7 separate regions of the Homo sapiens genome follow, and all the other regions are linked to region 6. Evidence: promoter capture Hi-C in 16 types of primary human blood cells and fetal thymus (Javierre and others, 2016). All regions are on one chromosome and are shown on one strand. Each heading gives the region's core, a stretch centred on a gene start or on the middle of the fragment in contact. The rest is flanking DNA. Distances are from core to core; before and after follow the strand shown.

The links. Contacts are between HindIII fragments. The CHiCAGO score rates a contact against its expected background, and 5 or more counts as called.
Region 1: a fragment that was not itself captured here is called in contact with the fragment with the promoter of POLQ in region 6 in 2 of 17 cell types (total B cells and activated CD4 T cells); the score reaches 7.3 in total B cells.
Region 2: a contact is called between a fragment that was not itself captured here and the fragment with the promoter of POLQ in region 6, in 4 of 17 cell types (activated CD4 T cells, naive CD8 T cells, monocytes and 1 more). The highest score is 6.9, in activated CD4 T cells.
Region 3: a fragment that was not itself captured here is called in contact with the fragment with the promoter of POLQ in region 6 in 7 of 17 cell types (activated CD4 T cells, naive B cells, non-activated CD4 T cells and 4 more); the score reaches 6.8 in activated CD4 T cells.
Region 4: a fragment that was not itself captured here is called in contact with the fragment with the promoter of POLQ in region 6 in 3 of 17 cell types (fetal thymus, total CD4 T cells and naive B cells); the score reaches 9.6 in fetal thymus.
Region 5: a contact is called between the fragment with the promoter of TIMMDC1 here and the fragment with the promoter of POLQ in region 6, in 1 of 17 cell types (fetal thymus). The highest score is 7.7, in fetal thymus.
Region 7: a fragment that was not itself captured here is called in contact with the fragment with the promoter of POLQ in region 6 in 2 of 17 cell types (naive CD8 T cells and activated CD4 T cells); the score reaches 6.0 in naive CD8 T cells.

What each region holds. Positions count from the first base shown.
Region 1 is chr3:123,555,024-123,558,993 of GRCh38, reverse strand. All of the region lies in intron 3 of HACD2 (3-hydroxyacyl-CoA dehydratase 2), which reads left to right. Among named protein-coding and RNA genes, the nearest start is that of HACD2, 28 kb to the left of the region's middle. The HindIII fragment of the contact is 4,418 bases long and covers 296-3,970 here.
Region 2 is chr3:123,594,941-123,598,839 of GRCh38, reverse strand. The region is part of intron 2 of MYLK-AS1 (MYLK antisense RNA 1); the gene reads right to left. Among named protein-coding and RNA genes, the nearest start is that of MYLK-AS1, 11 kb to the right of the region's middle. The HindIII fragment of the contact is 1,640 bases long and covers 1,426-3,065 here.
Region 3 is chr3:123,577,123-123,581,130 of GRCh38, reverse strand. All of the region lies in intron 2 of HACD2 (3-hydroxyacyl-CoA dehydratase 2), which reads left to right. Among named protein-coding and RNA genes, the nearest start is that of HACD2, 5.9 kb to the left of the region's middle. The HindIII fragment of the contact is 5,964 bases long and covers 1-4,008 here.
Region 4 is chr3:123,714,461-123,718,403 of GRCh38, reverse strand. The region is part of intron 13 of MYLK (myosin light chain kinase); the gene reads left to right. It overlaps LOC105369194 (a long non-coding RNA gene), which reads right to left. Exons shown (of 3, transcript XR_924417.4): 3 at 2,004-3,943. Among named protein-coding and RNA genes, the nearest start is that of MYLK-AS2, 27 kb to the right of the region's middle. The HindIII fragment of the contact is 1,495 bases long and covers 1,363-2,857 here.
Region 5 is chr3:119,497,057-119,500,848 of GRCh38, reverse strand. It overlaps TIMMDC1 (translocase of inner mitochondrial membrane domain containing 1), which reads right to left and starts at 2,302. Exons shown (of 7, transcript NM_016589.4): 1 at 1,922-2,302; 2 at 1-154. The coding sequence starts at 2,115. RefSeq lists an enhancer at 2,513-2,562. The HindIII fragment of the contact is 2,873 bases long and covers 1,778-3,792 here.
Region 6 is chr3:121,544,360-121,547,828 of GRCh38, reverse strand. POLQ (DNA polymerase theta) reads left to right here and starts at 1,841. Exons shown (of 30, transcript NM_199420.4): 1 at 1,841-2,114; 2 at 2,923-3,102. The coding sequence starts at 1,952. RefSeq lists enhancers at 1,693-1,987, 1,879-2,108. The HindIII fragment of the contact is 11,524 bases long and covers 1-3,469 here.
Region 7 is chr3:123,981,078-123,985,083 of GRCh38, reverse strand. The region is part of intron 1 of ROPN1 (rhophilin associated tail protein 1); the gene reads left to right. Among named protein-coding and RNA genes, the nearest start is that of ROPN1, 9.0 kb to the left of the region's middle. The HindIII fragment of the contact is 1,236 bases long and covers 1,600-2,835 here.

The sequences.
Region 1 (3,970 bases), core at 1,255-3,754, 2.0 Mb before region 6:
ATAAGATACCTTTAAATCCAACATGAGTTTGATTTGCTTGATGAAAATGGGTGCCATATTTCAGCAGTTCTTTGGTGCGATGGTTTGTGATAGTCTGAAGTCAACCTTACACCTATTCTTAGCTTCAAAAGCAAGGTTAGTCCTGCAAAGTTGGGAACACCAAGTAGTTACCAAGTTGAGTAAATCCTGTTGAACCAAAAAGTGAAAACTTGAGTCATCTTTTAGCCAAAGAATAATTTGATTTATGCTTCTGTGGCAGGAGTTGAACAATGTGTTAAAAGGGAGCAAGAAAGCTTCGGAAAATTTGTATGACCGTGATATGTCATTTTTATAGTTCAGTTTCCTTTTCTTGGGAGAGGATTTTTTTTCTCTTCATTCACTGTAAACATCTTTCCATTAATTTTTAAAAATATGCTATTTTTTTAGAGCAGTTTTAGGTTCACAGCAAAATTGAGAGGAAGGTACAGACATGTCCCATAGGCCCCCTTCCTCCACGCATGCATAGTCTCCCATTATCAACATCCCCAACCAGAGTAGTACATTTGTTACAATTGATTAATGTACATTGACACATCATTTTTGTCCAAAGCCCATAGTTCACTCTTAGCATTGTACAATCGTTGGGTTTGGACAAATTTATAATGACATATATCTAATATTATACTGTCATACAGAGTGTTTTCACTCCCACTCTGGGGCTTGTCTTAAAAATCTTCTGTACTCTACCTGTTTATCCCCCAGAGCCCTGGAAGCCATTGATCTTTCCACTGTCTCCATGGTTTTGCCTTTTCCAGAATGTCATACAGTATGCAGCCTTTTCAGACCGACTTCTTTGACTTAGTAATATGTGTTTAAGTTTTCTCCATGTCTTTTCATGGCTTGATAGCCCATTTCATTTTAGCACTGAATAATACCCCGTTGTCTGGATGTACCACAATTTACCCATTCTCCTAGTAAAGTACATCTTGGTTGCTACCAGGTTTTGCCAATTGTGAATAAAGCTGCTATGGACATTTGTGTGCAGGTTTTTGTGCAGATGCAAGTTTTCAAATCCTTTGGATAAATACCAAAGAGCATGATTGCTAGATTATATGCTAAGGGTATGTTTAGTTTTGTAAGAATCTGCCAAACAGTCTTCTAAAGTGTCTGTACCGTTTTGCTTTCCCAAGAGTAATGAATGAGAGTTTCTTATTCCACATCCTCTGCTGCGTTTGGTATTGTCAGTGCTCTGGATTTTGACCCTTCTAATAGGTGTGTAGTGGTGTATTGATTATACATGACGTAGAGCATCTTTTAATATGCTTATTTGCATCTGTAGGTCCTCTTTGATGAGGTGTTTTTTGTTGTTTATTTTTTTGAGACAGTCTCACTCTGTCATCCAGGCTGGAGTGCAGTGGAGCAATCATAGCTCACTGTAGCCTTGAACTCCTGGGCTCAAGTGATCCTCCTGCCCCAGCCTCCCAAGTAGCTGGGACTACAGGTGTGAGCCACCATGCCCAGCTAATTTTTTTAATTTTTTGTACAGATGGGATCTTGCTATCTTTCTCAAGCTGGTCTTGGCCTCAAGTGACCCTCCCACCTCAGCCTGGTAAAGTATCTTTTAAGGCAGCGGTCCACAACCTCTTTGGCACCAGGGACTGGTTTCGTGAAAGACATTTTTTCCATGGACTGGGGATAAGGGGAGGGGGTGGTTTTGGGATGAAATTGTTTCACTTCAGATCATCAGGCATTAGATTCTCATAAGGAGCACTCAACCTAGGTCCCTTGAATGCACAGTTGACACTAGGGTTCATGCTCCTATGAGAATCTAACACTGCTGCTGATCTGACAGGAGGTGGAGCTCAGGCAGTGATACTCACTCACCTGCTGCTCTCCTGCTGCGCAGCCCAGGGACTGGGGACCCCTGTTTTAGGGTCTTTTTAAGTTTAGGATAACAGTCCTTTGTCAAATATTATCTTTTGCAAATATTTTCTCCTGGTCTGAGGCTTGTCTTTTTATTCCCTTTACAGTATCTTTTGCGGAGCAGAAATTTTTAATTTTAGTCAAGTCCAGTTTGCCAGTTTGTTGGACTTCAGACATTCTAATAGGCGTGTAGTGGTAGTTGTTGTTTTAATTTTTATTTCTCTAATGACAAATGCTATGGCACATCTTTTCATATGCTCATTTGTCATCTTTTGGGGCAAGGTGTCTATTCAGGTCTTTGCTCATTTTTCAGTTGGATTGTTTTTTTGTTGAGATTTAAGAATTCTTTCTATATTTTGGATACAAATTCTTTATCAGACAGGTGTTCAGCAAATATTTTCTCTTGCTCTGGGGCTTGTCTTTTGATTCTTTTAATAGTGTCTTTGAGGAAGCACAGATTTTTAAATTTAATAATGTACAACTTAACCAGTTTTCCCTTTCATGGATTGTGCTTTGGTATTGTGTCTGAAAACTTGTTACTATAGATATCTCGATTACCCTGATTTGATCTTTACATATTACATGAATATGTCAAAATATCACATGTACCCTGAAAATATGCACATCTATTGTATATCATTTTTTTTTTTTTTTTGAGACGGAGTCTTGCTCTGTCACCCAGGCTGGAGTGCAGTGTCATGGTCATGGCTCGCTGCAGCCTTGATCTGCAGGGCTCAGGTGATCCTCCCACCTCAGCTTCCCAAGCAGCTGGGACTACAGGCGTGCACCACCACACTTGGCTAGTTTTTGTGCTTTTTGTAGAGATGGGACTTCTCCGTGTTGCCAGGGATGGTCTTGAACTCCTGGGGTCAATAGATCTGCCTGCCTTGGCCTCCCAAAGTGCTGGAATTACAGGCATGAGCCACTTCACCCGGCCTCAATTTATTTTTTAGAGATGGGGTCTTGCTGTGTTGCCCACACCAGTCTCAAATTCCTGGCCTCAGGTGATCCTCCCGCCTCAGTCTGTGATCCATTTTGAGTTAATTTTTGTGAAAGGTGTCAGGTCTGTGTCTAGTTTTATTTATTTATTTTTTTACATATAGTCATCCAGTTGTTCGGCACGATTTGTTGAAAAGTCTATTCTTTCTCCATTGCGTTGTCTTTATGCCATTGTCAAAGATCAGTTATTGCTGGATCTATTTCTGGCCCCTCTGTTCTATTGATGTATATGTTTATTATTTTGCCAATACCAGGATTACCTTGATTATAAGTCTTAAAATCTGGTAGTAGAAGTCCTCTAACTTTATTCCTTCTTTTTTCAGTATTGTATGGGTCTTTTGCCTTTCCATATGAACTTTGGAATCTTTTTGTCAACATCTACAAAATAGCTTCCTGGGATTTTGAGTGGGATTGTGTTGAATCTATAGAGCAAGTCGGGAATAATTGACACCTTAACAATATTGACTCTTTCAATCCACAGACATATAATATTTCTCCACTTATTTAGATCTTTGATTTCTTTTATCATTGTTTTGCAGTTTTTCACATAGCAATTCTCTGTTTTGTTAGAGTTATATGTGTTTTTATTTGGTGTTAGTATAAATGATTTTTTTTTAACTTTAAAATTTTGGTGGTTCATTGCTGGTACAGAGAAAGGCAATTGACCTTCATATATTGATCTTATATCCTGTGACCTTGCTATACTTGCTTATTAGTTCTAGGATTTTGTGTGTGTGTGTGTTTGTAGATTCTTTGAGATCTTCTATATAGATAATCATATCATCTTTGAACAAAGACAGTTTTATTTCTTGCTTTTCAGTTTATTTACCTTTTATTTCTTTTTCTTGTCTTACTGCACTGGCTAAGACTTCCAGTATGACATTCTTCATATTCTTTACTCAATAAGATAAAATTATTCCTAGCTCAGTTTTCTCCCCAACCAATTTTGAAGGCATATACACTTTCTACTTCATTTTTACTATCAGGGTATAAAATTCAATGTCTATTTTTTTAAGTTCTTCTGTATCCTTACTTATTTTTTTGTCTGCTTGACCTGTCTTGCACTTAG
Region 2 (3,899 bases), core at 996-3,495, 2.1 Mb before region 6:
TATTACTGATATCTACCCTCAATAGAAGACAGAAAGAAAAAGAGGAATTATAGTTTCTGATACAAAGAAAAAATTTAAGTCCAGGTGCAGTGGCTCATGCCTGTAATCCCAACACTTTGGGAGGCCAAGGAAGGAGGATCACTTGAGCCCAGGAGTTCAAGACCAGCTGGGCAACATACGGAGACTCTGTCTCTACAAAAAATTTAAAAATTAGCCAGATGTGGTGGTATGCACCTGTAGTCCCAGCTACTCAGGAGGCTGAGGCAGAAGGATTGCTTTAGCCTGGGAGTTCAAGGCTGCAGTGAGCTATGATTGCACTACTGTACTCCAGCCTGGGCAACAGAGTGAGATCCTGTCAAAAAAAAAAGAAAAAGAAAAGAAAAGAAAAAGAAATTTTAATCACAAAAACTACTACATTCATTGGAGAAAAAGCAAAACACATATAAACAGAAAGAACATTTGAAAACAAATGATGCTGTCTCTCACCCAAAAATAAACATTATTAATATATTGGTATACCCCCTCCAGATTTTTTTCTCCATAGACAAACACCTATACCTAATTGTTAAAAAATGGGATCTTACTACATGCCATGTATAATCCACTTTTTTACTTAGCATATTCTAAACAACGTCCATGTCAAATACATTTATGCAATATTATTTTCCCAAACTTTCTCTTAAAACTTTTTCAAAACCAGGCATGGTGGCTCATGCCTATAATCCCAGCACTTTGAGAGGCTGAGGCTTGAGCCCAGGCATTCGAGGCTGCAGTGAGCTGTGATCATGCCACTGTACTCTAACCTGGGCAACAGAGAAAGACCCTGTCTCTAAGAAATGGGAAATAAAAAATAAAAACTTTTTCAAACTGAGAAAAAAAATTGACAGTTGCATCTAATGCCCTTCACATACAGTCAATGTTAGAAGAAGATTTACCCTGAACATCTCACTTTTCTGCATGGCTCAGGTCCTCTGATCGAAGGCAATTGCAAACAATTCAAGAATACTTATATAAGGAGACATCTCAGGATAGTAAAGCGTAGACATGTTTACCTCCCTGGAGATGGTCCAGGATAGTAAAGATAAAGAACTCTTCTTCCTCCCTTCCTGGACAAGACTTGCTTACATTCCAGAGTAAACTAAGGTTTCTCTCTCTCTGGAGAGGATGATGGGCAGGTCTCTGGCAGTTATATAGAAGATCAGAGTTTCCTAATTTTTACAGGGCTCCTGTCCTGTAATGCACCCCGCTGCATGTGCAGGTACCATCTCGCCCTCATGATGACCCTTGGAAACCAACATAGGATGTTGCTTGGGCTGCTGCTTTTGCTACAAATGATTAATTGTTTTTGTTTTTGACTCAGAAGCCTCATTTAAAAGTAAGTTTCTGCAAAACCATTTTTAATGGCTGAATATACTATTTTAAGCTTCCATCATAATTTAGTCAGTCTATACTGCTGGACATTTAGATTGTTTCCAACAGTTTGGAAATATTCTTATTGTAAATAGCATTGTGATGAATGAACTTTTATAACTAAATCTTTTTTCACATCCTAAATTCTTTCTTTAGGATAAATTCCAATGGCTGGGTGCAGTGGCGTGTGCCTGTAGTCCCAGTTATCGGAAGGCTGAGGTGAGAGAATCACTTGAGCCCAGGAGTTTGAAGCCAACTTGGGCAATAGAGCAATATCCTATCTCTAAAACAGATAAAAATAAAAAAGTTCCAAGAAGTGTAATTGTTGGGTCAAAGGACACGCATAATTTTAAAGTTTCAGTATATATTTATGTATTTCCAAGCTGTCTTCCAGAAAGTCTATCAATTTATACTTTCAATAGCAAAGTGTAAGAGCACAACTGTTCTTATACGCCTGCCAACAGGGTTACTGACATTTTGAGTAAGAAAAGAAAAAGAAGAAGACATCTATCTCATTGTTTTAATCAGTGTTTATTCATAAACGTGATTGAACTTCATTAGTGTGTTCATTAACTATTTGTAGGGAGACTATGGCCTGCAGCTGATCACAGCATCATCAAATACTAAGGCAACTATCACACAGCCTCTCACATGTGTCTCTTCTCTCCCCACATCTGCTGAGGGCTCAGTTCTTCCAAGTTCAGATTCTCAAAGAGATGAATCTGATATAGCCATTTCATATTAGGTTGTATCACCAGCCAGTCTAAGGCACCGCTAACTGGAAGTTTAGGGTGGAATTTAGAGTCTGATTCCTATCACCCATCCCTCTTTTCCTCCAGGGTTTTGCATGACAGAAAAACTAGATCACCAGCCAAACAAGAATCCAAATGTCAGCTGTCTTTTTTTTTTTTTGAGATGGGATCTTGCTCTGTTGCCTGCCCAGGTTGGAGTGCTGTGGTGCTATCACCATCCACTGCAACTTCAATCTCCCCAGCTCAAGCCATCCTCCTGCCTCAGCCTCTCAAGTAGCTGGGACTATAGACATGCACCACTACATCCAGCTAATATTTCTATGTTTTGTAGAGGCAAAGTCTTACTATGTTGCCCAGGCTGGCCTCAAACTTCTGAGCTCATGTGATCCTCCTGCCTTGGCCTCCCAAAGTGCTAGGATTACACCATGCCCGGCCCAAATGTCAGTTGTCTTCGTGGTTGGTCAGGCACCCAAAAACATACCCTTGAAGAGTTCTCTGATGCTGGCCAGTTTGGAGACAGCAGCAGGGTCACATCTCACCTTCCTGAATTGAAGATAGCTTCCTGGCCTGGCAGGACTGATCAGAATTCCACCCCAGTTCCCACTGCCAATCACAGGCAGAAAAACTAGAAAAGAGAAAGAGTGGTGCACTGCAAAGCAGAAGGAAGAGAAAGCCTGGCTGCCTTTCAGTTCAGTGACTGTGCAGAATCCCTTGTCTCCAAGTAAAAGCATGGCCCTGTGAATTTCACAGATCTTAACTGATCCTATTAATCTTTTCTCCTCGCTGTGAATAGGCAGAAGCCAGATATGTTTATTTCTAATATTCCTTGTGATAGGAGTTTTTCATTTTTGGCCTCCTAGTATCTAACACTTCCTATTTGGAAAAAAATCCAATAAAGAAGCTTAAGTATGGACAAATAGCCCCTTTTCCAGATCCCTTGTCTCTAGAATTTGGGCACAGGACCTTCCAATCAGACACTCCTACCTAAGACCTTGATTCTGGAGTAACAGAAAGAAGCAAATGGCACTTAGAATCTTTCCAGAGGTGGAAGAGGAAGCAATAAGGGTACTGTCCAACGTCTGATGGTGGTTGTGCCAATGACAGACGCAGTTGGATACTAACCAGATGCTTCCTGTGTATTGATTTGGTCTCTATTTCGGGCTGCCTAATTTCCCATGGCTCCTTTCCAAGTTCCAAGCCTCATTCTTCAGCTTTTCCATCAATTTTGTGAGCTATGTAATGTCCTTTCAATAAATTCATTTTCTCTCTAACTAACCGAGAGTTAGTCTCCATTATTTAGGAACCTCGAAATTTGGTTAGTACATATGTCTTTTTGTACCTTTTCTATGAAGACAAAAAGATAAGAAAGAGGGGTGCCCACCTCCAGTTCAGAAGTATCCACTATCCTGACTTTTGTGATAAACATTTCATGATTTTGCTTTATAGTCTTGGCATCTATGTATGTAGTCAGGGGAATGAGAATAATATGGTAGAAAATATGGCCCCTGTCTGTCAATCTCTTCCCTGAAAGAGATGGCAGTGACTCCAGTCTCTAACATTCTTATTATGTCCAGATTAACTATACGATAGCTTCCTAGATGACAATCCTGGTGCAAACCATCCTATTTCCTACTATCAGGATTCCTCTCTGCTTTTAATTTATTATAAATTTCTTATGCATATTTAACGTATAAGATGTATCTAACATATAAACTATATGTAAGTTATGAGCATAAA
Region 3 (4,008 bases), core at 899-3,398, 2.0 Mb before region 6:
ATCATTTATCTCGCTGGGCACGGTGGCTCACGCCTGTAATCCCAGCACTCTGGGAGGCCGAGGCGGGTGGATCACGAGGTCAGGAGATTGAGACCGTCCTGGCTAACACAGTGAAACCCCGTCTCTACTAAAAATACAAAAATTAGCCGGGTGTGGTGGCACGGGCGTGTGGTCCCAGCTACTGGGAGGCAAGGTTGCAGTGAGCTGAGATCACGCCACTGTACTCCAGCCTGGGCAACAGAACGAGACTCTGTCTCAAAAAAAAAAAAAAAAAAAATTCTTTATCTCATGAAATGAAGTGTGATACCTCTACCTTTCATTCTCAATTTTTTTTTTTTTCTTGAGACAGGGTCTTGTTCTGTCGCCCAGGCTGGAGTGCAGTGGTGCCATCATGGCCGTGGCTCACTGCAGCCTTGAACTCCTGGGACCAAGCAGTCCTCCCACCTCAGCTTGCAGAGTAGCTGGGCCCACAGGCTTGCACCACCATACATGGATAATTTTTAAAACTTCATAGAGACAGGGTCTCCCTGTGTTGCCCAGGCTGGTCTCAAACTCCTTGGCTCAAGCAATCTTCCCATCTCAGCCTCCCAAAGCACTGAGATTACAGGCGTGAACCACTGCACCCAGCCCACTCTCACTTTATTTATTTATTTTTTTGAGAGAGGGTCACTCTGTCACCCAGGCTGAAGTGCAGTGGTGTGATCACTGCTCACTGCAGCCTTGACTTCCCAGGCCCCAGCCATCCTCCCACCTCATCCTCCCAAGTAGCTGGGACCACAGGCGTGCACTACCGTGCCTGGCTCATTTTTATATTTTTGGTAGAGGTGAGGTTTGGCTGTGTTTCCCAGGCTGGATTCACTCTCACGTTCTAGATCAGAAAGTTATCCATTTTGCTTTTGTTTTTTTCTCTTAGAAGGCAGAGGAATTTCTTTTTTTCTTTCTTTCTTTTTTCTTTTTTTTTTTTGACACAGGGCCTTACTCTGTTGCCCAGGCAGGAGTGCAGTGGTGGGATCTCGGCTCACTGCAACACAGAGGAATTTCAATAGTGTCCAAACTTAGGCATTTTAAGTAGGTGGTATGATGAAATGAGCTTCCAGCTGGAAGCCTGAGTACCTTTTTATTTTAAGTATAATAGTTTTCCCAACTGACTCTATAGATTTGGGCAAGTCTTTTCTCTCGTATCCACCTCCTTTTCATTTGTAAATAATTAGGTTAAAGTAGATTTCTAAAGTCCCTTACTACCCTAAATTTGAGTGTGAGGAAATTTTAACAAATCCTAATGTGAACCATTTTTTAAACTTAGAGGCTTGAACTTTTTTTGGAAGCGGACACTAGTAAATAAGTAGTACTTTCTCTTTCAGAACCTTGGCCAGTACAGTTCCCACAAGCTACAGAGAAGCAAATTTGGAGTCAAGACCATCAGACTTCCAGTACTTGATATAGTAGGGGGTTGTCCCCATTTGGAATACTTCAATAATTTAAAGGGGTTTCTATCTCTTTAAGACATCATAATATTAGAGCTGAGCACAGTGGCTCATGCTTATAGTCCCAGCAATCCCAGAGCTTTGGGAGGCCAAGGCAGGAGGATCACTTGAGGGCAAGAGTTCGAGACCAGCTTGAGCAACATAGCAAGACCTCATCTCTACAAAAAAAAAATTTTTTTTTTTTTAGCTGGGCTGGGTGGTGGGTACCTGTAGTCCCAGCTACTTGGGAGGCTGAAATGGGAGGCTTGAGCTTGAACCCAGGAGTTTGAGGCTGCAGCGAACTATGATTGCATCACTGCAATCCAGCCTGGATGACAGAGTGAGACCTTGTCTCAAAAAAAAAAAAACTTGGTAATGTTAGAAGTATAATTTTTAAAATTTAAGTATATCTTATGGAAGGTAGGGACATTAAACAGTGTCATACTTTAAAATCCACTCAGGAACCAAGTCTTAGACTTTGAAGGATTAGCCTGTTTATCCTTATAGAATTTTTAATAGGGATTTAGGAAAATATCTTGGATTTTTGGTTTTATCTCTGTTATCCCCACTAAGAACCAATTAAGTGACAAATCCTGGATTTGATTTTGGGAAAATGTCTGTGCATAAGGAAGTGAAGACTCCCAGGAACATGCAGGCAATTAACGTTGCAAAGGTCAGTGATGGAAGTAATCCCTTGGACTGGGCGATAGAGCAGGCTTGCTAAAACCACAATTTCTGTGGTTGAGGAGTTTTTCATTGCCTACCCCATCTACACTGTGTAATAATTAGATGTGTGTGGTATTGTTTAATTACACATAAGTTATCCTGATGGGAATTATTAGTGTTGACATATATCCTGTTTACAGGAGGAGAAAATGAATCCAGGGAAGGCAGCTACTCATTTATATCTCTTTATGCTAAATGTTATTCTTTATTAGGTTCTGTGGGAGTTTACTTAAAAAGGAAATCGAAATTACTTGTTCTCCAATTTCACATCTTCTTAAGAAAATAATAACACTTTGCTTTTTAAAAGACATAAAAACATTTACCAAGCAAGTACAAAGGAGCATGTAGTAGCAAGGTACAAAAGGAAGCCTGGCTGAGTACCATGGCTCACACCTGTAATCCCAGCACTTTAGGAGGCTGACATGGGGGGATTGCTTGAGGCCAGAAATTCAAGACCATCCTGGGAAACATAGCGAGACCCCATCTCTACAAAAAATTAAAAAATTGGCCAGGCATGGTAGCACATGCCTGTAGTCCCAGCTAATCAGGAGACTGAGGTGGGAGGATCACTTGTGCCCAGGAGTTCAAGGCTACAGTGAGCCATGATCGTGCCACTGCACTCCAGCCTGGGTGACAGAGCAAGACCCCATTTCCAAAAAAAAAAGTATCTATAAATAAAATGCTACTCATGGATAAAATGTGGTCTATGGATATAAACATTCATAAAATTAATAAAGGCAAATGAATTACTGATATATGCCTGGATAAATCTTGAAAAAATGCATGTGAAAGGAGGCAGATACAAAAAGTCACAAATAGTATGATTTCATTTATAAGAAATATCCAGAATAGGCAAATCCATAGTGACAGAAAGTAGAGGAATTGTTAGGGGCTGTGGGGAGAGAGAGTGGGGTGTGACTGCTAATGGTACAGGATTTCCTTTTAAGGTGATGATATTGTTCTTGAAATAGTGGTGGTGGGTGCACAACTCTGTGAACATATTAAAAACCACTAGATTGTACAGTTTAAAATTGTGAATTTTGTGGCATGTGAATTATATGTCAGTTTTTAAAAAACGAGTTCCTCTGTAATGAGTTGTGGGTGTTTTCTACTTTATTCATTTTTGGAGTCCATGATATTCATTGATGAGGCAGATGTTATCTTTGCATATTTGTCAAGTATAGTTAGATTAAAAATTAGTGGACTAATGCAGTTATGGCAGTTTAAAATTATGTTTGAGAGAATTTGGGTTTCTAAATATCTTTGGTTAACATAAGACTGTAATTATAGCAAAGACACTTTCTTTTTTTTTTTTTTTTTTGAGACAGAGTCTCACTCCATCGCCCAGGCTGGAGTGCAGTGGCGCGATCTCGGCTCACTGCAAGCTCCGCCTCCCGGGTTCACGCCATTCTCCTGCCTCAGCTTCCCGAGTAGCTGGGACTACAGGCGCCCGCCACCACACCCGGCTAATTTTTTGTATTTTTAGTAGAGACGGGGTTTCACCATGTTAGCCAGGATGGTCTCGATCTCCTGACCTCATGATCCGCCAGCCTCGGCCTCCCAAATTGCTGGGATTACAAGTGTGAGCCACTGCGCCCGGCCAAAGACACTTTCAAATACTCATGATTGGATATGCCTCTGTGATTGACAGTGAGATTTCAAATGGGTTAAAGATTGCTCTGCAAAGAGGTTAACTGTTGAGATTGATACAGGCTATCTTCAACATATGTACATTGCTGTATATGACATTTACCTACCATTGTGCATCTGGGACTTCCTGATGGACCACAGGAATTCCCTTTTCTTCCCATTCTCTTCC
Region 4 (3,943 bases), core at 861-3,360, 2.2 Mb before region 6:
TGCTTAATTATCTTCCTCTCCACACTGTAAGCTCCCTGCAGGGAGGGATCACGTCATACTGTGTGTAGAGCCAGGCCTGCCATGGGAGCATGCATTCCCTGAATGGATGAGAGCACAGAGGTTGCCGAACCTCCCCTGCAGTGCAGGGAGGCATTCCCTAGAATTCCTCGCTTTTCTGGGGGCTCAGTGCCCATTAGGGTGTGCAGGAAATCTGCAAATTACCTTCAAGAGTCCCTCAACAGGGCTAGGCACAGTGTCTCATGCCTGTAATCCCAGCACTTTGGGAGGCCAAGGCAGGTGGATCTCTTGAGCCGAGGAGTTCGAGACCACCTTGGGCAACACGGCAACACACCGTCTCCACAAAAAACACAAAAATTAGCCGGGAGTGGTGGCCCATGCCTCTAGTCCCAGCTACTCAGGAGGCTGAGGCAGGAGGATTGCTTGAGCCTGCGAGGTCGAGACTGCAGTTGCAGTGAGCCGTAATCACACCACTGGACTCCAGCCTGGATGACAGAGCAAGACCCTGTCTCAAAAAAAAAAAAAAAAAAAAAAAAAAAAAAAAAAGAGTCCCTCAACAAATATTCCTTCTTTCCCCAACACAGGCTAGGGAAAAAAAATTCCCCAATAGTTAACCAAGCAATGAATGTCTTTCCTCCTGACCCAGGATGAGTCCTGATCCAGGATGATTAATTCAAATTCCTGCAGAGCCCAGGAATATCTGAAATACAGTATATATTTCACAGCGTTTGGACTGAGTCATTGCTGGGGGCTTCCTTGGGCTAGAATATTTAAAATTTTTTCCCCCTGGAGTATCTCCATCAAGGCTAAAATTCTTAAGTGTCTAGATTTATTAATAGCCTGCCAGTTGTGCCCATTTGACATAGTTTCTCAGCCTAACGGTTTGTTTATTTAACTGAAGGCCTAGTGGGCCTGTTTAAGGCATCTAAGGACATAAAATGTGGGTAGGTTAAAAAGATGAAAAGATCATCTCTAGAATAGATAATAAAATATAACAAGCATATTTATTAGAGTATTTGTTTTGATGCAGAGCTTCTAATGAAGACAACAGGCATCAGTGAAGTCAGCGTTTGCTTGGCAATGAGTAGAGGCACAGTTTGTTTTCAGATTAATACCAGGCACTCTGCGGGGCAGCCTGGAGCCACCTCCTTTGTCTTCCCTGGTTATGCACAGGTACTTTGGACACTATACAATCTATCCAGTTAACATAACGTATGGATCCTGACCTCCTCAAGCTTAAAAACACTGACAACTTCTTAAATACTTACATTGGCTACAGAAAAATATATTGAAGAAGAATAAATACCAGTTTTAACTTGCCTTTTTTATATATATTAAGAAGCTTAGTTTATTCAAAACATCTGTCCACAAGCCTTTAAACTGTAAGAAGGCAAGCAATTAATTACATGTTAAAATTTATAACCAATATTTTCATTTTATGTAGGTTGAGTACAGAATTGGGTTTGTGTACCACATGGGTTCTTTGTGTTACAGAAAGACTTCTGAGCATATACATGTACGTTTGTGCCCATGCCATAGAATTTGAGCCTCATTTTACTAATAGGGCCATTATAGAGCTTTATAACTCTCCACCTCTACAGCCCATAGTCAGTCATAATTACATAGAGACCCAGATCAAGAATGCTATCCAGAATCGCAGGATTGAGCTCCTAGTGGCAAAATGTGACCCATGTGATGACAGTGTAACTGAGAGTGTGGCTTCCAGGCCCGCACTGGGAGGGAACAGTGGGTGGTTTGGATGCCATACCTTTATGTTTAGAGTGTGATTATAGCTTCTAAGACAGTGGAAAGGCTGTGGTTTCAGTGATCCTTGCTTCCCAGCTAGCAACCCTATCATTACTGGTCAGAGATCTTTTTTGGGATATTATACGTCATTGTTCCTTTCATTCTTTTCCTCGCACACTTCTCTTCCCATTTGCTTCTTAAGTTCTGGGAGGAAGGGAGGCCAAAAGAAAACAAGGCTATGGGAGGAAAAATCCTTTTAATGCCACAAAGTAGCCATTTTGCTGACTTCAAGAAGGTTCTGTTTGGTTAGGAGACAGACTTTTGTTTAAGGGGAATTCAGATGCCCCGGGGATTTACAGCTTGCACAAACCCCCTGGAAATGGGAAGGGGCTGTGTGGCGTGTCAGCAGGGAGAATGTAACTCTTCTTTGATGAATCCTCCAGAGTTAACAATCCTGGAATTTAGGGAAAGGAGGAGGCTGGTGGTGATCCCTGGACCATGCTGGATTTTGAACTCCAAATAAAGAAAGATGGGGGCACTGTGCTTCCATGGTGCCCCCTCAATTGGTGATCTGTTGAATTTCCATAGTATAACAGGGTTTGGAGTGAATCAGAATTGCTGTTGGAATGGCATTTTGCATTGTAATAACTAAGGAATACAGCTCATGTTCAAAGCCTAAGGAAAATATTTGGTAGATCCAAGATTAAGGCAAACATGTGTTGAATGCAAATTTGGATCCAGGACCTTGGGGCTTCAGAAAGTAGCAAGTTGACCAGCAAATGTTGGCAGGTAGAAAAACACACTTATAAGGAGAAATTCAGAATTTAGTTGTTTTTCCTACTAAAACAACGGAAAGAAAAGGAAGGGCTGTGAAGGGAAGACAGGAGAATTATTGTAGTGCAGAAGGAGATGGCAGATCCTGGTCAGCCACCAGGACAAAGGCAACAGTGGGTTCCTAGTGTCAGGTCCTAGAGGAGGTAAAGGCCTCACTCCTGGTGCTGGGTTTGAAGAAGAGGCTTTACTGGTTATTTTATAAGAAGAATTAGTGCAAGAGGTAGCAAACTGCTCCTAACTCTTCCTCTAAATAAAAGCTTTCCAAAACGCCATGTTGGGTATCAATTTATATTAGGTTTTTAAAGTAAAACCACTATCAATTTGTTTTTAAGAAGGAATTGTTTGATAGGAAAGTCTAATTGGCTAGAAAAGCTGGCTTGTTTTATTTAATTCTCACAACAACTCCACTTGACACTTCCGAATTCACTTTACAGATGAAGAAAGTGATGCTCAGGAGGTGATGTCAGCTGCCCACAGTAGTCCAGGTGATCAGCAGCAGCACCAGGCCACCACCTGCTTCAGCCCATGGGCTTTCTGCATGGCTGCTCTTGGATCCTGATAGGTCATTTGTTTGATGCTTTTGCTTCACCAGAGCGATCATTTCATGTTTAGTTTCATGACTAGGAACTGGCTTCAAAAACAACTTCTAGTGAGTCAAAAACAGCCAAAATGGCAAGGACGGAAAAACTCCATGGGTCAGTAGAATCATAAAGGGGAGAGTGCGTATATCTGTCTGTCTCTCATTCTCTCCCCCTTCCTTTGCTTCCCTTTTCCCCCTCTCTCTTCCTCACATTGCCTCTTTTTCTTTCTCTTCTCTCTGTTCTTCCCTTTCTCCATTCTTGCTCTTTCTTAAGTCCTATTAACAGCTTCGTCTACATGGCATCGTTTTTACTTGTCAGCAATCTGCTTGGGCTTATTCTTAGTCATTGTGCTTGTCTTTCCCATTGGACGACAGCCCGATCAATCCTTTTCCATTCTGTCAAAATGGGACAGTGGCAGTTTAATGACTGAGTCCAGGAGTGAATTGGCTAATACCAAGTAACAGAGCAACAGATAAATGCACTTTAGATCCTTAATCCTAGGCAAGGAAAGCAAGGAGACTCAGCCCTTTCTGCACTCCAGAAAGAAGGCCCTCTCTGGGCTCAGTCTCAGCAGAGCAGCAGGAAGCACAGCTGTGGGGAAACCCGGGGTATATTTAGTTTGGCCCCATTTGAGCTGGGCAAGTCTGTCACTGGGTCTCAGCAAAGCATCCCTTGCTATTTGTGTGCCATGGCCAGTGGGTGTCCTCCCAAGACGAAGAAGTCTTGGGCTCTCTGAGACAACCTTGTCACTGGGGGCCTCTTGC
Region 5 (3,792 bases), core at 1,053-3,552, 2.0 Mb after region 6:
CCGGTTATGATAAATTTCTGCCTGGCTCTGCTCAATGTATTGTTGTTTAGCATGAATAAAAGCTGGTATTCCCCCATACACCCAGCCAATGATGCCTGCTGTAGCTGCCGTCTTACAGATATTAGCAAGGTCCTTTGAAATTCTCTGCTGTTCACTACAACATCAAAAAGACAATGTTGTTTGGGATTAGTTTATGGACATTGCTCTCCAAGAGACTCTATAATCAGAATTAACCCAAATGCTACCACCACAACATTTTTCATCATAGGTAGAATTCTCAGATGAATTAAACAGTTCAGTTATATTAAAAGGAACGTAGTCTCAGACAAAACGAAGCTATGGTGTTAGAATTAGGATAGTGGCAACTCCTGAAAAGACAATGACCGGAAAAGGCACAAGGGGAGCTTTTGGGATGTTACAATAGTTGCCATTTCTTTCTTAGTGCTGGGTACAGCTATGTTCAGTTTGTGAAAATTCATCCATCAGTATACTTAGGCACATTTTTCGAAATGCATTTCCTACTCCAATAAAAAGTTTTTTAAAAGGTGCTTTTGATGACTATTACACCCCTAGAAATAGGAAGAATTTGTGAGTTGGATAGAGAGACCAATATTTCCGTTTAAATCTTAAGTTAACTTTTAGAAATCACACCAACTCGTGAGATTTTAGGGCAATGTATGAAAGAATAAAAACGTGGATGTAAGACAAAAAATCTAAATTCTATTTTACTAAATAATTTCATGAAATACTCAGATAGGACTGTACTAATAAAAGCACTGGGCTGGGCACAGTAGCACACGCCTGTAGTCACAGCTAACTTAGGAGGCTGAGGTAGGACTTGAGCCCGAGTTCAAATCCAGCATAGCAACATAGCAAAGATCCTGGCTCTAAAAATAAACAAATAAATGTTTTTTTAAAAACGCACTGGGAAAGTTCACTATGCAGTGGGTGGCACATGCCAATCTAAAATAACAAGGAAAAACTACTATTTAATTCGATTTGTTACTCTCAAATGCATAAGAAGCTAGAACTGCTAATGAAGCTTCCAAGATGTCATCCTGAGACTGCTCTAACAAATAGCTGTCTTAAGTATTAAGTTACTATAAAATAATTGCCCTTCTAGGCCGGGCGCAGTCCAGCCGCGGTGGCTCAGGCCTGTAATCCCAGCACTTTGGGAGGCGGAAACAGGCAGATCACGTGAGGTCAGGAGTTCCAGACCAGCCTGGCGAATGGTGAAATCCTGTCTCTACTAAAAATACAAAAATTAGCTGGGCATGGTAGTGGGCAACTGTAATCCCAGCTACTCTGGAGGCTGAGGCAGGAGAACCGCTTGAACCTGGGAAGTGAAGAGTGCAGTGAGCCAAGATCGCACCACTGCACTCCAGCCTGGGCGATAGAGCGCGACTCAGTCTCGAAAAAAAAAAAAAAAAGAAAGAAAAATACGAGTTTGGGCTGGCGCGGTGGCTCACGCCTGTAATCCCAGCACTTTGGGAGGCCGAGGTAGGCGGATCGCCTAAGTCCAAGAGTTCAAGACCAGCCTAGGCAACATGGTAAGAACCCTGTCTATAAAAAATACATTAAAAAAAAATTAGCCGGGCGTGGTGGTGCGCGCCTGTAGTCCCAATTAATCGGGAGGCTGAGGTGGGAGGATCACTTGAGTCCCAGAGGCAGAGGTTGCAGTGAGCCGAGATAGCACCACAGCACTCCAGCCTGGGCGACAGAGCAAGACCCTGTCTGGAAAAAAAAAAAAAAAAAAGAAAGAAAAAAGATACAAGCTTGGGTTACAAATATCAGAACCTCAAATATAATCTAAAAATGAAGCACACCATCCTTGGTGTCCTAAGGCTGACCCAGGCTGCCCACGCTGCAGGACACCGCTTTCGCGGCCCCCTACCCCACTTCACACCCTAGGCACTTTTACTCTTTGCCAAACAGCTCCCGGAGGCGGTCCCATCCAGATTCCGGGTAATAGGGCTCTGGGACGTAGGGAAGCCGCTTCTGACGCTCCTCAAGGACTTCCGAATCGGCAGTCACAGCTTCGGCAGCAAAGACTCGGGGAAATAGGCACAATGCTCTACAGAGAAAGCTCCGCGGTGCCGGTGGCGGCACCTCCATGGCCTTCTCTCGACCTACGGACAAACTTGAGCGCTCAGGACTTCAAGTCCTCGCGGACGTGCCGCGGGAGAGCGTAACTGTACGAGGTGAGAATCCGTGCATTTGACCCAGGTTAACCCTCTGCCAGAGGGCTCGACACCCACACCTTCAGTCCCCGGCCTCGCTTTGGAGTCCTTGGAAATACGACACAGGAAGTCCCGCCCGACCGGGGCAAAGGCCAGGGGGCGGGGCGACGGCGAAGCCGGAGCCCAAAAGACTTCCGGTTGAGGGCGGGTTGGGCCACTGCTGTGCTGAGTGCACCCCCGGAAGTGAGTTGGCTGCCAGTAGTGAAGCTCAGCGTGGTCCCGGCAGGCCTTCGCTCCGTGTTTGTGGTTCCTGGGTCATGCAAACGGTGTCTGCGGCTACTTATATTCAGCTTGAGGTGGTCATAGGTTGAAGTAATTTATCGTATTTAAAATGCCAGGAATTAGCCGGGCATGGTGGCGGGCGCCTGTAATCCTAGCTACTCGGGAGGCTGAGGTAGGAGAATCGCTTGAACCCGGGAGGCGGAGGTTGCAGTGAGCCGAGATCACACCACTGCACTGCAGCCTGGGCAACAAGAGCGAAAATCTGTCTCAAAAAAAAAAAAAAAAGGCAGGAATCCCGCTTCAGTAAGGAAGAAAGTGCAATATTCAGTGCAAGTGGAGTAGGGAAAGAGGGAAAGGCGATTTGTGCAAAAACAAGTCCAACCTACTCTGCCAACATTAGAGAAGCCTTCCAGGCTGGGCGGGGTCCGTTTGTACCTTGTCAGTTCTGCTGGAAAAAAAACGAGGCATTGGGGATGGGTGTTGGTGCCAGTTACACTAAGATTTCGAGAACACTTTTTTGAAGAATCAGCTTTTTGGCAGGTCTTCCTAAGGTGGATTTCACTCCCTTTAGTTCATATGCCTACTGCTTCTCAAAAGGCAGGAGAATTTCTGGAATTTCTATCAAGTGTTTGTATAATTTGCCGTCACTACAACCTCTGCTAACATATGCTTCGAAGTACAGTTTTCATTAAAATGAATGCATTTAAAATATTCTCAATATTCGTGTAATTTCATTCAATCCTTGTTAACAAGCATACTCCCTTATTCATTTTGCCAATCCCTTCACCTCCTTGATTCCTTTCTAGTTGTCAATCAAAACTGCCACACTGTAGTAGAATACAGTAAGTGGACTTAGGAATTTGATAGCTGGAAATGCTACACATAAGTCCCTGAGAAGTGACTGACTAGAGTGACCAGCTCAATTAGTGACAGCGCCATGAAGACTACTCTGGGATATGAGATTTGATTCAGCACTCATCGTAGCACTTACAACACTGCATCATAATTTCCTATTAATCTGTCTCAATAAACTATCCTTGAGATCACAGACCAAATATATTCATCTCTGTATCTCCAGGACCTAGAACCGCAGTAGGTGCTCAGTAAATATTTGTTGAATAATTCAGATCTCCTGACTTCTGGCTCTGGATTACTGCTTATCCCATGTTAGGTAGAAGTGGGCACCAAGATAAGTTACCAAGGCCTGAAAGCCCAAGAAAATGGCTGTACAGTCTGTTTCTAACCTATATGTAGAAAAAGCTAAATGCATAAGATGACCCCAGAATTATTCTGGGGTGAAGGAGGACTTGAAATGGGTAGGAGGGTTTGG
Region 6 (3,469 bases), core at 592-3,091:
CACTTTGGGAGGCGGAGGTGGACGGGTCATTTGAGGTCAGGAGTTCGAGACCAGCTTGACCAACATGGTGAAACCCTGTCTGTACTAAAAATACAAAAATTAGCCAGGTGTGGTGGTGCAGGCCTGTAATCCCAGCTACTTGGGAGGCTGAGGCAGGAGAAACGCTTGAACCTGGGAGGCAGAGGTTGCAGTCAGCAGAGATCAAGCCACTGCACTCCAGCCTGGGCGACAGAGTGGGACACTCCGTCTCAAAACAAACAAACAAACAAAAAATGGGTTAAGCAAGTTGCCCAAGATCTCACAGCTACTAAGTTTCAAACCTAGACTGACTGACTCCAGAGTTGCACTGTTAACCCTTAAGTTACACTGCATCTGAGAAAGTTCTTTCTTGGCTGCAATCTAGGGGTCTCTCTCTCTTTTTTTTTTTTTTCTTTTTTTGAGACGGAGTCTTTCTTTGTCGCACAGGTTGGAGTGCAGTGGTGCGATCTCGGCTCACTACAACCACCGCCTCCCAGGTTCAAGCAATTCTCCCGCCTCAGCCTCCAGAGTAGCTGGGATTACAGGCACCCGCCATCATACCCGGCTAATTTTTTGTATTTTTGTAGAGACGGGGTTTCACCATGTTGGCCAGGCTGGTCTAGAGCTCCTGACCTCAGGTGATGCACTCATCTCGGCCTCCCAAAGTGCTGGGATTACAGGCGTGAGCCACCACGGCCGGCGAGATCTCTTTTATTTCTTTAATAGTACTCTTCATTTCTGCCCAAGCATATGGCACACTTCATTAACTGACTTGTTTAATGTCTGCCTTATTCTCTAGACTCTTTCTCTTTGAGAGCAGGAACCATTTTATGCCATTTCACTGCCATTTACCCAGTGGCTAGCTTACAGTAGATACTCAGTAAATAGTTGTTGATTGCGTAAAAGGCCAAGAGAAAAATGTTTCATTCACGGAGTAATGTCGCCATCTCGTGGAACTTTAGAATATTGTCATTTAAATCAAAAAAATGTTTTCACGGAAGGAATTGATGGTTCGAATGCTATTTTCCAGATTGTATTCGAGTGTTTTTTTTTTTTTTAATTGGACTGGACCTTTTGAGATTTTTAGTGCTCTAGAACTGCACAGCCTCTTCAGGTCAGGCTTAGGGCCTACTAGTTTTGCTTGGTGAAATGAATTATGCAACTAGGTAATGAATGGTCACCGTTTTACGTTCAGAACTCGTTCGCTTCTACCTTTACAAAAGGGACAACACAGATGCATTACTAAGCTCTTGGCTCATAACGATCCCTGGGGTATATTCAGAGCCCCTTCCTCGCGGCGTTCATATAGTGTCTCAGGGGTCTGTCAGCCAGCAATCCCCAATTCCTCATTACATATTCCTCACAATGCATGCTGGCTAAAATGGAAATTGTGTTCAGAAATAGCCCTGCCCTACCATCATATACTAGGAGAAAGGAGGAAATTATGCTCTATTAGAAACCCTAGGCTATCTTGCATAATGCTTCTCAATCTGAAATAATTTTTTACAGAATACCAATACGTTAAGAAGAGCTACTTCCCTGATCTACCTATTATGGGCAGCCCATTTTATGAAGTTAGCATGGCCTTCCTATTCAAACCAGAAATGGACAAAAGGAGAAGGAAGGCTTTTAGGTCAGTATGGTTATAACTGTAGATTCTGTATTCTTCCTCTTTAATCTATCTCTCATATTAACCAACCAGGAGGTTGGAGGCCGGAAGTCTTAGACGCCAGCGAGAGCCGCTCCTTCCCCACGAGTCTATGGCTTTCGGGTTACTTAAGCCACGGAGAACTCTATGGTTCCGGGGCGGGCCGGGAGGTTTGAGTTTGAAGACTGGCGGGAAGATGTCCGCAGCTGTTGCCAGGCCAGGGTTCTCCCGAGAGGGAGGACGCTGGGACTGTGGCTTGCCCTGATCGGCCGAGAAGAGTTTGCCATGAATCTTCTGCGTCGGAGTGGGAAACGGCGGCGTTCAGAATCAGGCTCAGATTCGTTCTCGGGAAGCGGCGGTGACAGCAGTGCCAGCCCCCAGTTCCTCTCCGGGTCCGTGCTGAGCCCGCCGCCCGGCCTTGGTCGCTGCCTGAAGGCCGCAGCTGCAGGTGCTCCAGGAACCCGGGAGGCCGCGGGCAACGGGGGCAGCTCCGCCGGGCCATGGGTCGGGAGGTGTCCTCACCCCACGGGACTTGCTTCGTTGCATACCCCATTGGGCTTCTACTCCCCTTCTCTGTGACTGGGGCCTGGTGTGGCAGGTCACTTTCTGTTCAGACATACGCGTGTTTTCAGTGATCGCCTGGTATTAATGTTCACGTGGCTTCTGGATCTTTCGACCTTTAGAGAAACAACTTCCTAGTTAGCTTCATCCCATCATCTGTTGGGCGGCTCGTTCCTGGTAGTACCCAGTACTCCTTACAGACCCTTAAGACAGGATTGTTGGGCCTGGAGTACGGCACAGGCTGTTCGGCGTCCAGGGGAAGGCTGGAAGGGATTCGTAATGAGATTGGTTGGGTGTCCCGTGGATGTCGACCCAGTTTTTTAAAATCGTTAGTTGTGCAGTCGTCATGGAACTAAAACTTACTATAAATAGAAACTCACCTAACTTAGCTTTGTAATGCTTGCATATTGCCCTCCTCCCCCAACTACACCCGTAATTCCAACACTCTTTATCTACTGTGTATTGCACGCTTTTTTGTTCGTTTGAGGCTTTTAAGGAATTTTTATTATATGCAGTAAATAACAATTTATTACTTTTCTATACATGGTCAATTTCTCATAAGATTCTTGAAGTCAGGATGTGCTTTAAAGAGCTTCATTTCAACACATAGGAATTCCAACACACGGTGAAGGGCTAACTGTAAAACTCATATATTAGAAGTAAATTAAATTTTAATTTTTTCTTTTTCCTAAAAGGAGAATGCAAGCCTACAGTTCCTGACTACGAAAGAGACAAGCTACTATTGGCAAACTGGGGACTTCCTAAAGCAGTTCTGGAAAAATACCACAGTTTTGGTGTAAAAAAGATGTTTGAATGGCAGGCAGAGTGCCTTTTGCTTGGACAAGTCCTGGAAGGAAAGAATTTAGTTTATTCAGGTATCCAAATTTATGTAAACTAATTACTATTTTTAAGATATGAATGTAAAGAATACTCTATTGAGGTAGTTGTGGTTCGTTTAAAAGGTGAATGAGGCAGTGCTTTATAACTAGAGAAAATCGTACAATATGTGTGAAAAGTGGAGTTTTATTTATATTTAAATTACAAAAGTTTTATTGTTTGACTGGGGTGGAGGGAAGCAAGAAAAATGACAATTTAAAGAGTGGGCAATTCTGCCTGCCATTATTCTCAACAAACATATATCCCAGTGAGTGTGCAATGGGAGATGTAAATCTGCCCTTCCCCTGTTTGATCCTGGTTGCTTTTCAGGGTATGAGCATTATCATTACATGTTTGTTAATTTAC
Region 7 (4,006 bases), core at 968-3,467, 2.4 Mb before region 6:
CCATCAATCTTTCATGGCACACCTGTAGCCCATTCTGCCATGGCCTCTAGTGGGGAGCTCAGCTTTAGAGAGCAATGAAAGGCAGAAGAGGATTGAGTGGTAATATGCATACTACAAACAATATTTGATGATATCCAAGTTTTCTAGGAAGGCCTATGGCACAGTATGAAAAACCCTGGGGAAGTATAGGGTTTAAGCAGATGAAAGAAGAAGGGCACTTCAAGTAAGCCGGCTAGAATTAGCAAAATACTGAGGGGAAGAGAGAAAAGAAGGATAGATTACTGTTAACAGTGGGCGAGACAGTGTTAAGCTTTGGATATATAATTTTTTTTTTTGGAAAGTGGCCAGAGCAGACTGTATAGGAAATTTGTGTTGGTAAAGAGTAGCGGAAAATTTTTAGTTTAGAATTATAGGTACAAATCATAGAAAACCTTGAAAGTCAGGATATGATTGTCATTTTGTGAGCAGTGCTCTCTGACTATAAAAAGCAACTTGGAAGATAGATCTGGACACACTGAACAGGACAGGCCAGAGAATGACCTGAGACAGGGAGACTAGTCAGGAGGCTGCACAATAGGTGATAAGGGGCTGAGCCAGAGACACAGGAGTAGAAATAGAAAGGGATTAATTGAAGACACATTTCAAAGGAAATAGTGGGATTTAGTGAGATTCAGCAGACTGAAGAAAATGGATGACTCTCAGACTTTGAGGCCAAAGGACTGAGAGATTAGTGGTATCATGTTCAGAGAAGAACCTGGGAGAGAGATTTAGTTGGGAGATGGACAATGGATTCTAGTGAAGTGTCCTGGAGGCAATGGGAAGTATGAAATAGAAGCACAAGGCGAGAGGTCAAAGATGGGAAAACAAGTGCAATCCACACAGTTTTGTCGTAGATAAAGCCGTGAAGAGGCTGCGAGCTCTCCAAGAAGAGCAACAGAAAGAATGCTGAAGACCTGAGTTGGGGGAAGATTGCTAACTCTTCCTCAGAGCAAGGAAGGAGGAAGAGGAATTATGGAAGGAGGCAAAGGAGCAATGCTGAGGAAAATAGACACACAAGAATGGCGTATGCTATCAAAGGAAGAGAAAGTCTCAAGAAGGAAAGAATTGTCATGTCTAGCAGGCCACCTCCCATGTCAGACTATGTGTATTCAAATCCTGCCTCTGTCACTTATTATATGTCATTGCAAAAGTTCTGTTATCTTTTCTAGTTTCATTATCTGTGAAATAATGCTAATATATTCTACCCCATAGGGATATTTTGAGGATTACTTGAGAAAAATGTATGGTCCTGTACTTAGCACAGTACTGGTCCTGTTATGAGTGCACCTGGCACTTACAATAAATTAATAGATATAATTGATAACTTTTAAGGGAAAAATAGAATGATGAGAAGAGAAAAAAAAACTGCAAGAGGTTAAAGAAGGACCAACCCCTGAGAAAGACAATGGGTATGGAAAACTTACAAGAGATTCCTTGCCCCAAAATGAAAAGAGCTTGCAGACCAATTGTTAGAAACAGCAATGGGATGAAGTAAAGGCTTTACTTAAGTTTGCTCTATACTGACTAAGGGTTAACATTGTTACTGTTGTCATGGAAGCTTCCTTAATTAGGATTGGGGCATCTTTTCGTTTACACGAGATTATCTGAGACTCCAGGAGAGAAATTAAACAATTGCACAACCAAAAGATCCTGTCAAAATACATGGACACAGAAAATGGTGCAGCCGCTGTGGAAAACAGTGTGGCAGTTCCTCAAAAAATTAAAATACAATTACCATATGATCCATCCATTCCACTTCTGGGTATATATACCCAACACAATTTAAAGCAAGGACTTGAACACATATTTGTATACCTATGTTCATAGCAGCATTATTCACAATAGCTAAAATGTGGAAATGATCCGACTGTCCATTGACCTATGAATGGATAAAATTGTGGTACATCTAGCAAAATAGTATTCAGCCTTAAGAACAAGGAAATTCTCAGCTTGGGGCCAGTGGTGCAATGGGTAACACATCTGACTATGGATCCAAAAAAAAGGAAATTCTGACACATGCTACCACATGAATGAACCTGAAGACATTGTGCTAAGCGAAATAAACCACACACAAAGGGACAAATATTATATGCCATATGATTTTATATGATAGTCAAATTCATGAAGATAGAAGAATGGTGGTTGCCAGGAGCTGTGGGGAAGGAGAATAGGGAGTTAGTACTTAATGGGTACAGAGTTTCAGCTAGTGAAGATGAAAAAGTTCTGGAGATGGCTGGTGGTGATTGTGGCACAACAATGTGAATGTACTTAATGACACTGAACTGTACATTTAAAATGGTAAATTGTATGTATTTTTAACACAGTAAAAGAATATATATATGTGCAGACAACATGAGCAAATAAGGCACTGCTCTTTGATAGATAAAATGGGTTGAAAAGTCATCAGAAACAACTTATAAGAGTAACTTTTTAAATGATGAAATATTTCATACTGACAAAATTAAATACATGATGTAAGTAGAAGTATAAAAATAATGAAACAAGCATCTAGACAGCAACCATCCAGCTTAAAACATAGAGCATTACTAATAGTACTGAGACCCTTGTTGTATTTCCCTAATAACATCCCTCTCCATCCTCTCCCTCCTCCACCAGGGGTAACCACCATTCTGAATTTGTATTTATCATTCCTTACTCTTTATTATAATATTATAACATATATATGTCACCAGAAACAATATATTGCTTTTCCACCTAGCATGGTGAGACTCCTCCATGGTGATGTCTGTGGCATACTCATTGAGAATTGTTGTTATTGTCTTAACAATTGAAGCTTTTTATCATTTTATCAAAAACAATTGAAGCTTTCGTCACTCTTTTTTCCTAATAGTGCATTTTGCCTTAAAGTATCTTTTGTCTGGCATGAGTATGTCTACCTTAACTTTTATTGGTTATTCTTTGCTTATTTATACTCTTTTCACCTTGAGTCTTTCTGTGTCTTCATTTTTTCAGGTGTACCTATACCTGTATTTTAACTGGCACATTTAAGCCCATTTATTTTTATTGTGATTACTGATATGTATGCATTATTTTCTACCATGTTATTTGTCTACTTTTCCTGTTTTTACCCCTCCTTTCTTGCCTTCTTTTTGACTGATGAAGGGTTTTGTTTGTTTGCTTGTTTGTGTTTTTAAAAAATTCCTTTTTTCCTCTCTACAGATTTAGTGGTTACATTACTGTTATAACTTTTCTAACACTTTGCAAAGTCTAAAATTAATCATTATTTTATCCTCTTTTTCCTCCAAATAAAAGAACATAAATAAAGTAAAAGGTCATGAAGTCCCACCAACCTAAGACCACTTTAGTTTCTTGTCTTGGGATTTCCCAGCCATGCTGGTGTTGGCATAAATTGAAAACTTAGAACTAGTCTGTGGCTACCAACTCCTGGGGGACTGTTTCTCTCCTGACTAGAAGCAGCAATGGAGACAGGTTTCTTTGTTGCTTACCCCTGCCTGTAGGCGGATATTTTCAGCCACACCTTTTCACGCTGAGGGTGTAGTCCCTGGGCGGGTCTCAAGTTTAGGTCAGAAGGGGAGTCCTTTAGTCCAGACATTTGCCTTTTGTGAGCCTAATCCTTGGTCTCTATCCACCCTGCCTAGCAATTTATCTCAAAGCTGCAAGTTCCTGCCATCTACATGTGCCCAGGTGAGCCCTAGTTTCTTCATTTGCCCAGCACTGCGGGTTCCCCTTTACTCACCTCATTGGCCACTGGAAGATTTCTCTCACTTCACTGCAAGCCCAGCAAGGCAATGTGAAAGGCTTGTACTGAGATTTGTCTGGCCTCTAGGTGTTTTGAAGAGGGACAGCTTTTTAGCATATCTAGTCTGTCCCTTTCTCTACTAAAAGCAGAAAAAAATCTTTTGATCTGTTGTTTATTTGTGGAGGGAATTGTATACACTTTATGGATTTTCATATTTTGTTTCAATTTGTCCTGGAACTTTTTGAG